Linked DNA regions of Homo sapiens: region 1 is linked to region 2. Evidence: promoter capture Hi-C in human tissues and cell types (Jung and others, 2019). All regions are on one chromosome and are shown on one strand. Each heading gives the region's core, a stretch centred on a gene start or on the middle of the fragment in contact. The rest is flanking DNA. Distances are from core to core; before and after follow the strand shown.

The links. The method cuts DNA at HindIII sites, captures the fragments that hold promoters and counts their contacts. A contact is called where the count stands out against the background at its distance.
Region 1: a contact is called between the fragment with the promoter of SLC5A10 here and the fragment with the promoter of FLII in region 2, in 1 of the 25 tissues and cell types used here (spleen).

Annotation. Positions count from the first base shown.
Region 1 is chr17:18,950,477-18,955,608 of GRCh38, forward strand. It overlaps SLC5A10 (solute carrier family 5 member 10), which reads left to right and starts at 1,689. Exons shown (of 15, transcript NM_001042450.4): 1 at 1,689-1,840. The coding sequence starts at 1,730. The HindIII fragment of the contact is 13,514 bases long and covers 1-5,132 here.
Region 2 is chr17:18,256,683-18,261,761 of GRCh38, forward strand. FLII (FLII actin remodeling protein) reads right to left here and starts at 2,056. Exons shown (of 30, transcript NM_002018.4): 1 at 1,946-2,056; 2 at 227-337. The coding sequence starts at 2,008. It overlaps MIEF2 (mitochondrial elongation factor 2), which reads left to right and starts at 3,980. Exons shown (of 4, transcript NM_139162.4): 1 at 3,980-4,055. RefSeq lists enhancers at 22-688, 1,348-1,427, 1,427-1,928, 3,538-3,667, 4,289-4,909 and 1 more and silencers at 1,598-1,737, 1,748-2,147. The HindIII fragment of the contact is 13,885 bases long and covers 1-5,079 here.

The DNA of each region.
Region 1 (5,132 bases), core at 439-2,938, 690 kb after region 2:
GGTAAGTCTGGATCCTCCCAGCTGGGTCCTCCTGATCAGTGCAAAGCAGCCTTTTGTTTTAAAACACATTGCAAGCAATGGCTTGGGAAGTAAACACCATCTGAGGCTCGCTGGCCAGAGGCAAGGGGAGACGGCAGGCAGTTGAGCCTGCCTGAGGGTTCTCTCAGCAGTGACTTCCTTTTTCCCTTCCTTCTTCTGCCTAGTCCTGTATGTGAGGACTATTAATTGTTTTTTGTTGTTGTTGTTGTTTGTTTTGTGAGATGGAGTCTCCCTCTGTTGCCCAGGCTGGACTGCAATGGCGCAGTCTTGGCTCACTGCAATCTCTACCTCCTGAGTTCAAGCAATTCTCCTGCCTCAGCCTCCCAAGTAGCTGGGATTACAGGTGCGTACCACCATGTCTGGCTAATTTTTGTATTTTTAGTAGAGACGAGGTTTTGCCATGTTGGCCAGGCTGGTCTCAAACTCCTGATCTCAGGTGATCCACCCGCCTTGGCCTCCCAAAGGCATGAGCCTCCCAAGGGCATGAGCCACTGCTCCTGGCCGAGGGGATTAATTTTTACCCGCACCTCAGGGTTATTGAGTAACAGGCTGGCTGGGTTTGCAGGCCAGCGTGTTCCTGGTGGCAGCCGCTCACTCATTAACACTTCTGGAAGTGCTGCATGTCTGGTTAAACTGCAAATGCTTTGCAAAGTCACGAGTCATGTCACTGAGCAGAGGCGTGAGACTGCCGGCCAGCCCTGCTGTGTACACTGATAGAATTAGTGAGCGAGCGTCCCACTCTGATGGAATCCAGATGGAACTCGTCACTGTCACTGCGGTGGAGACGGTGGGGCCACATCTGCACTGAATCCTACTCTGCGCCTTCAATGGCTGCGTAATGGCGGATGGCCATTTCCTTGACTAGGATGAGACATTGCCTACTCTGCGTGGCTGCTGTGAGCGTGAAATGGGATCATGTGCGGAACAGCCACGCATGGTCCGTGAAATGGGATCATGTGCAGAACAGCCACGCATGGTCCTTGGTGTGTGACAGATATTGGGTCCCTCTGTGGTCCCAGGCAGACATTGCCCGGGGTGGGGGCCGAATGCATGGTCAAGTTGAGGGGCCTGGGACTGTTTCACGGGTCTAGAAAAAGAAAGCAGAAACGCTGGAAGCAGGACTTTATTGTCCGACATGGGGCTGCCTCTGAGCCTGGGCTGTGTTGGCTGGACGTGAGCCATAATGCAGGTGTCCCCCTCCCAAGCCCTGCTCAGTCCACTCACAGCCCGATGGCCAAGGGAGGACATGGCTGCCCGCCACGGCAGTATCTTCAGAGGTGAGGCGGTTGTCCCTACGCTCTATGCTTCTTATACAAATTAGATATAGGTGAAGCCACCCATTAAGCAACCCAGCCTTTCTGGGACTATTTGGGCTGCCTCCGGGTCCACTAAATGCGGTTCATTTTCCCCAAGCCCCCTCCGAGTTCAAGGAGGCTCCTTCCTTTCCTCCTCCCACTTGCTTCTCCCAGGCTCCCTGACTCCTGCGCTCTGGGATCTGCACCCCACCATGGGGTGAGGAAGCTGAACTGCATGGTGAGGCAGCTGCCCTGCATGCAGCCACATCATGGGCTGGAGATGCCACTGTCCGCTTGGTTTAATGATCAATGAGCTCCCTGCCAGGAAACCCTTTCTGACCTGGTTTGCCCCTCAGTCCCTCGGGCTCATACCTAGTGCCTGCGGCAGGACAGCCATGGCCGCCAACTCCACCAGCGACCTCCACACTCCCGGGACGCAGCTGAGCGTGGCTGACATCATCGTCATCACTGTGTATTTTGCTCTGAATGTGGCCGTGGGCATATGGGTAAGGGGACCTGTGGTGGTGTTGGCCAAGTGGGCTCTCAGGGTTGGTGCTTGGGGTGGGAACCGGGGTCCAGCATGTCCCTGTGGTGTCAGCATTGGTCCCAGCTGGTGGCCTAGTGATCCTTGTGGTCCTCCTCCCAGCCTGGGGTAGACTTGCTTGGAGACCTTGACCAAGCCCGTTTCTCTCTTTGGGTAATGGCGTCTCCATCTGCAAAGTGAGGAGGAGGAAATTCTCTCTAACAGGTAACTGGGCTTTTGTGCTGCTGCCCAGCTGGAGTCCTTGGGTGTGGCCCATCAGCCTCCTGGTCCCAGTCTCCATGGTGTCAGTGACTCCTGTCTGCTTGAACAACAGGCTCCCCGGGATTCCCTGGCTGCACCCCAGAGCTGCTGGATCAGAATCCGGAGGCAGGGAGGGCCCTGGGAACTGGGGGTCTTTATTTTGAACAAGCTCCCTGGGGATTTATGTCCTGTGGCCTAGCCCTAGATCATAAGCCGGTTCTTTCTCCCTTCATAACAGTGAGAAATGAGCAGAGATCTGACCCCACACACAGATTCCAGGGGCAGCGGGGCCCCTGGGGACAGGCTGTTTCATGTGCAGATGGAGAAACCGAGGCTCTGGCCCTGCAGCAAGGGAAGGGCTCCTCTGGTCTATCGTGGAGGCCTTCCTGAGGGAAGGTGGACACAGCCTGGTTCAGGTCACCTGCTCCACGCTTAGCGCCTGGGGATGTTGGGCTCCACTTCTTAAGCCCCAGAGGTCCCCAGCCTGGCATCCCTGAGCCCTGACAGTCTCCTGGGGAGAATGAGTACCCCTTCTTTTTTTTTTTTTTTTTTTTTAACTGAGACGGAGTCTAGCACTGTCACCTGGGCTGGAGTGCAGTGGCACTATCTCGGCTCACTGCAACCTCCACCTCCTGGGTTCAAACAATTCTGCCTCAGCCTCCTGAGTAGCTGGGATTACAGGCGTCCACTACCACACCCAGGTAATGTTTTGTATTTTTAGTAGAGACAGAGTTTTACCGTGTTGGCCAGGCTAGTCTCGAACTCCTGACCTCATGATTTGCCCGCCTCGGCCTCCCAAAGTGCTAGAATTACAGGCGTGAGCCACCGCGCCCGGCCGAGTACCCGTTCTTATCTTCCATAACCCCTGGCCTAAGCACGAAGGCCTGGCAAACAGGAGACTGGTCACGTCCCCTCAGCTTCCTGGGCCTCAGTGTTCTGATCTGTTATATGGAGACACCACCTACCTGGGGTGAGGTCTGCTATCAAGGGGCCCACACAGGACCAGACCTTGCTGCTGCCATTGGTTCTACAGTGGTAGCAGTGGTGGTGGTGGTGGCAGTTGTAGCAGTGGTGATTATAAGAGTAGCAGCCGCAGTCATTAAAATTAATTATCACAGGTTGGATTTCAAAAATCTGAAACCCAAAATCTGGAACATTTTGAACACCAACATGATGCTCAAAGCAAATGCTCATTGGAGCATCTCAGATTTTAGAGTTTTGGGTTGGGGATGTTCAACTGGCAGGTATTCTGTAAGTATCTCCAAATCTGAAAGAGTCCGAAATCCAAAACTTTTCTGGTTTCAAATATTTCGGATAACGGCTCCTCAACCTGTATGTGATTAAATATTAACTCACAAGTAGCCCAGTGCTGGCCATCGGCAAAGCCGAGTTCAAGTCTCGGCTCTGCTCTGTGTACTTAAGTCACTTAATCTCTGTGGGCTTCAGTTTCCTCAAACACGCAATGCGGGTTTCTGTGCAGCCCACATCTCAGGGCTGTTCCAAGGAGCAAGGGTCCAATGGAAGTGAAAATCTGTTGCAAACTGTAACGTGCTATATTCCTGTGACAGTTGGTGGCTAGAATTCAGAGGAGGAGGTGCCCACGTGGGGCAGAACAGACAGTGGAGGGTTTCTGGATGAGGGGAGGTAAGGGCCAGGCAAGATCTGAAGAGGGAAAGAGGAGGGGAGACAAGGCTGTCCTGGCTAGCACGTCTAAGAAAGATGTTCTGGGCACCTGAGGCCAGACCCTTTGTAGCCCAGTGACTTGGGCCACCAGCCCTTGTTGCCCATGACCCACCTCTCCTAGTGAGTCAGCTTGCTGTTTGCAGGCTGGTGCCCCTGGAAGTAGGGCTGTAGGAGTTCTGCCCTGTCCCTCCTAGCAGGCTAGGCTGGCCCAGCTGGGAGCGGCTGGCAAGAGAGCAGTGAGCACATCCAGAAAAGATCAGAACCAGACAGGGAGGATGCTGGAGATGCATCCCACAGGGAGAAGCAGACAGAGCAAGCCAGGCAGGTGCAGCCCTGCAAAGATGTTTAGATGGTGGGCCTGGGAGAGTCTGGCGGGGGCCGGGGGGAGGCCTTTAAGGAAGAGATGTTCCTGGAGGAGGGGACTTTGAGCTGAGCCTTTGCATTCATTAAAGTATCTGTTAACAAGTGACTGAAAACTGCTTTCAAATGAGCTCTAAGAATATAGGAAATGTAGGCCGGGCGCAGTGGCTCATGCCTGTAATCCCAGCACTTTGGGAGGCCTAGGCGGGTGGATCACGAGGTCAGGAGTTTGAGACCAGCCTGGCCAGCATGGTGAAAGCCCGTCTCTACTTTTGTATTATTTTGTGATAATACAAAAATTAGCCAGGCGTGGTGCCAGGCGCCTGTAATCCCAGCTACTCAGGAGGCTGAGGCAGGAGAATTGCTTGAAACCGGAAGGCGGAGGTCGCAATGAGCTGAGATCACGCCACTGCACTCCAGCATGGGCAAAAGAGTGAAACACTGTATCAAAAAAAAAAAAAAAAAAAAAAAAAGAATTCAGGAAATGTAATTGTGTCCAGCAATAGAAAGGGCTTCAGGTGCAGTATGATCCAGGGATTCACAGCATTATTAAGGATACAGCTACACCTCACTTTGGTTCTCTCAGCCTCCATCCATGTGTAGCTCTGTCCTAAGCCCAGCTCCCCTCGTGTCCTGATGTGAAATGACCAGCCCTGCGATTGAGCCTGAGTTGAAATCCAGGCTGCACCACTTGCTAGATGGGTGTGTTTTCATCTCTGAGACCATCAGTTTCCTCATTGGTAACATGGCACCTGCTTCATAGAGCTGTTGCGAGGACTAAGAACTCCACACAGATCAAGAAGTTGAAGCCAACTCTGGCATGGGGGCCTTCGGGGAACCTTAAATGGGTACATGTGGCCCCCAGCAACTGCCAGCAGCCCCCAGAGCCCCAGATATAAGAAGGCAACTGGCAATGCCCACTATAGGCTTGAAAGATGAGAAGGGTTAGGAAAAAGCATGGGCTGTAAACA
Region 2 (5,079 bases), core at 806-3,305:
GGAAGGCCTCAGCCACACTGGCCCAACTACCCCTGCAGCTTCCCTCCCTCACTCACCCGGCCTCTTCTTGCACACCTCCCTGGACAGGGTGCCCACTCCCTTTCTTCCAGCTCTGCTCATAGCTGTCGGTGTTCCTCTCTCTGGAGAAGTTGTCTGCCTTCTCCACAGGCTCTGCCCACCTGGCTCATCCACAGGGACCCTCCCCTGCCCGCCCAAACCCCCTTACCAGCTTCTGCAGGGCGGCCAGCTCCTCGGGCAGGTAGCAGAGGCCAGTGCGGTTCAGCTTCAGCCACCGCAGGCTGGTCATGGCCTTGACATTCTCAGGGAAGTAGCCGCCCTGGGGGAAGGATGTCAAGGTGAAGCACAGAGCCCCTGCTCACCACCTTCTATGGCTCCTCCAGCCCATGGGAGCCTTTGGGGAGCCACAGAACCAACTCTCACCATCTGTGAGAACACAGACAAGTCATTTCATCATTGTGCCTCAATTTCTTCACCCATAGAATGGGAATTTTAAGCCCCCCCGTGACAAAAGTGTTGGCCTAAGATTTGTCTCTCCTACTGGATTCTGGGCCCCAGGAGGGCCAGGACAAAACTGGCTTGTTTCAGGTGAAAGCCCAGCATCCGGCTCTGTGGTTAGCTCGGCTCAAATTCCTTCACCTAGCATTCCACACTCTGACTGGCTGCCTGGGGTGGGGGATCCCCCTTCCAAGCCTTTGCAAAGGCGCCACCTGTGCCCTCATCCTGCCATCAGCACACTGGCAACTCACGGCCAGGGTCAAACCCTTGCTTGCGGAGACCGTGGCTCCCCACCCTGCAGGGCAGGCCAGCATCACTGCACTCCCCTGGTGTGTGAACGCCCACCTCGGCACCTCCAGCCCTTGTGGCACCAAGTCTGGGGCAGTAGGTGCCTTCAGTGCCTGCGGCTGATATTCCTTTCCCCCTAGCGCCACATTCCCAGCTGGTGACTCGGACTCTCCCAGTTCAGCAAAGAGGAACGGGGACCCCAGGTTAGGGTGGTGGGGATGGGGTCAGGGAAAAGTGGTGTAGCCACTTGTACTTGGGGTCAAAGGTGTGTACACAGGCAGGTAAACGCAGGAAAAACCTGCCTCCTCGGCCCCAGCCCCAGACCAACAACCCAGGCCGACCCTGCCAGTCACCCACCCTGAAGGTGAGGCTGACCCTCCAGCCAGCTCTCCCTCCCTCTCTTTCTCTGCTTCCCCTTTGGTCAGGCAATGCCTGTCTCATTCTTGAGTCCTGGAACCACCCCGCCGCCCCACCCACTGGCTGCGGAGGGCTGGGCTCCGGTCCCTTTTCTCTCAGTCCAGCAGCTGCTCAGACAACTGCCACCCAGCACCTGGCACACCGGCCTGACACACTCTCCACACCAACAAATCTCACTATACTCCTTGCGTCCAAGGAGGAGACTTTTAAGCCCCTTCACCGGCTGAGAAAGCCTAGGCTCTGAGAGGGGAAGTGATCTGAGAGGCCCAGGATCACACAGTATGGCGGGTGGCGGTGGCGGGGAGAGGGCAGTGATGAGTCGGCTCCACACCCGCCCCTGGGCAGCCGGGCAGCCATCCCTGAGTCAGGGCCTGGCTTGGGCGTGTGACCTCAGAGGGGCGGGGAGGCTCGCCCGATCCCCAGGCCACCATCCAGCCTAGACCGAGAACACGGACGCGGGGTGGGGGCTCCCGGCCGGGCCCCCGGCGGGACTCCGAGCCCAAGCGTCCGTCCCCGGCCTGCCCAGCCTCGGTCTCCCCGTACAGGCACTGGGCGGAGGCCTCGGAGGTCCATTCCTGGCCAGGGGAGAGCCCCACCCCGCCCCGGCCGCAGTCCCTGGGACACGCAGGGCCTGGAGCCGAGCGGGACAGGAAGCGGAGGCCAAGCGGGCCGGGCGGAAGAGAAGGCCTGCAGGGAGGCCCGGCACGCGCCCGGCCCGGCTCACCTTGAAGTCGTTGCCGCTGAGGTCCACGCCACGCACGAACGGCAGCACCCCGGTGGCCTCCATGGCGCCGCTCTCGCTGCCGGGCCGCGCCGGGCTAGGGAGCGCCGGGGCGAGGGCGCTGGGGGGAGCCGCGGGCTGGGCCAGCGCCGGCCCCGCCCCTTTAACCCGCCCGCGCCCGCCGCATTCCGCGGGGAAGTGTAGGCTTTAGGCCTCTTAGGGCCTCAGTTTCCCCGTCTGTTCGAAGACTGCGGAGGCACCAAGGAGTGCGGGCCCCCCCTGTGCTGGAGTTGGAGGCTTCCACGATCTCCAGGCTTAAGTCCCAGCGCCCCAGGGCAGGGGCCGTAACGGCCGCTGGTCGAGGCACCGTCACCTGCGCTGCTGCAGCACATGAAGCTGGCCCTGACCTCAGAGAGATTCTAAACCTCGGCCCCGGGGCGCAGAGGCCCAGGAAGTGCCTGTACTTGGCTGACCGGTGGTAGTGAGACACCTGGATCCTCGGGTCCTAGCTCTCCTGCTTCTGGACTTAGTTTCCTCATGTGTTGTTTTTGTTTTGTTGAGACAGGGTCTTCTTGCTCTGCTGCCCAGGCTGGAGTGCAGTGGTGTGATCATAGCTCACTGCAGCCTCGAACTCCTGGGCTCAGCCTCCCGACTACCTGGGATTATAGGCGCAGGCCACCACACCTGGCTAAATTTATTTATTTTATTTATTTTTTATTTTTTTTGAGACAGAGTCTCGCTCTGTCGCCCAGGCTGGAGTGCAGTGGCGCAGTCTCGGCTCACTGCAACCTCCGCCTCCCGGGTTCACGCCATTCTCCTGCCTCAGCCTCCCGGGTAGCTGGGACTACAGGCACCCGCCACTACGCCCGGCTAATTTTTTTTTTTTTTTTTTTTGTATTTTTAGTAGAGACGGGGTTTCACCGTGTTAGCCAGGATGGTCTCGATCTTCTGACCTCGTGATCCAACCGCCTCGGCCTCCCAAAGTGCTGGGATTACAGGCGTGAGCCACCGCGCCCGGCCTTATTTATACTTTTTGTAGACACGGGGTGCTTGCTATGTTGCCCAGGCTGGTCTTGATCTCCTGGCCTCAAGTGATCCTCTGGTATCAGCTTCTCAGAGTGTTGGGATGACAGGCGTGAGCCACCGCGCCCTACCCAGTTTCCTCATTTGTAAAATACTTTCTAAGGTTGTCACCATGAGCAAATTAACAAAGAATGCACGTGTAGCTCGCAGCATACAGCAGGCGCTCAGTGAGTGGCAGGTTATTATTCCGTTTTGTTTTGTTTTGTGCGCCAGGTTATTATTCCCACTTAGTGTCAGCACCCCTGTGCTCGTACCCCCCTACAAAGGGAGGCTCCAGAAGAGAAGCATCCGTCTTGGTCCTTGCTGTTCAAGGGGGCTCGCCCTGGCTGACACATAGCAGGACCCCAATAAATGAGCCACAGCTGTTATATGCCCAACCATCCTTCGCAGGGGAGGAGGGGGTCTAGTGTCCCCATTTTACAGGAGAAAAACTGATGCCCAGGTGGAGAATGGCCCACACAAGCTCGCACAGAGCAGGTGGCAGGGGTAGGCGCTGTGCCCCTCAGGCCCACAGGTAAGAATGAGGCCACCAAGACACTCTCTCGCAGAGGTGACCTAAGAGGTTGGATGTGCCGGGCCTCTAGCCATGTGCAGCCTCTCTACCTGGTCCCCAGAAGGAACGGGGCCCAGACAGCTTCCTCCACACCGGAGGCTCACATTACAACGCACAGACGTCCTGGAGGGTCGCCTGTCACGTCACCTGTTCGCGGTCTCGGAATGCAGCCCTGCACCTTTAAATCCAGACTGCGTCAGGGAGTCCCGCCCCAGAGGGAGTGCGGCTGTCGGCTGGGGGGCGGGACCTGCCCTTCATTGGCTGAACCGCGCAGTATTTTGGCACCTGTGCGCTGGACTCGAGCGCTCCGATTGGAGTTAGGGCCTGCTTGTCTGCGTGCTGCGAAGTCCGCGGCTGCCCCCGGGGCCCTAGTCGTTGGGTTCCAGGGTCCTTCACGTTCCATTCCCAGGCTGGTCTGAGCTCCGGGGCCGTGGTCCCGCTGCCTCCTCCGGTCGTCGTGCGGAAGCTGCGACGCAGGTACAGCTGGAGCGCGGCGGGGCGGCCCCCAGGGTCACCGGGCTCGGGGCTTGGCGCGCGACGGAACGCAGATCGGGGGCGTGGCCCGCGATCACCGCTGGGGAAGGCGGGGAGGGGACCTTTGGGGGACCAAGGGCAGCGTTCGAATCCTAGCCCAGCCCCCTTCCCCTCTCGGTCTCTTGGTTTATCCTGCGAACGGGGCGTCACCCGCCCACCTAGGGCTGCTGCGCGGCCTGCTCCGCCCGGGCCCAGGGCAGGCAGGTTTGGCGGAGGAGGGAAGGCCAAACGGCCTCCAGGGCCCCGCTGCGCAAACTTGGGTTATTTTCAGCCACCCGTGCCCTTTCCTGCTTCTCGGAGCTGGAAGGCTGTGGACTGAGGCCTGCGCGACCCCGCCAGAGATGGGGCTGAGTCCCAATTTAGACAGGTTGGGAGTATTTAAAGCGCTTTACAGTTTGCAAAGTAGATTCCTGGTCTCTCTGGGGGCGGGTGGCAGTATTGATCCCCGAGTCACCGATGAGGAGATTGAAACCGGCCCTGGGGCCGTGGCGGGTCACCCGGTTGGCCTGGGATCGCCCCAGAGACCGTCTTATTTTTAGTCTGGGGCGAATGGGCGGGTGTACGGGGCTGAGTCACACAGCGCTTCAGGCTTCAGCTACTCCAGGCATCTGGTCACCTGGCAACTGGGCCCCTGGCACCCACACTCTGGCAGGGCAGGTAGAAGTCCTTGGTGCCCGGGCAGGCTGTGACCTCATGGTCATCTGCTCAGGCCTCCCCGGGAGAGTTCTGCTTGGTGTCTAACTGATGTCCTAAGGTCCCAGCCCTTCTCAGCTCCCAGGGCCTGAGGGCAGTGTCCCCCTCGCAGAACGTGAGGAATGTGGACTGGGCCCTAGGAGATCTTTGCCTCCACTTCCCAAGTGCTGGCCCCCACCCAGCCACACACTTCAAGGCTGCCCACATCTGCCCCTCACTGCTGCCTATGCCATCTTACAGGTGAGCAAACAGGCTGGGGCCCAGGCCTTCACCT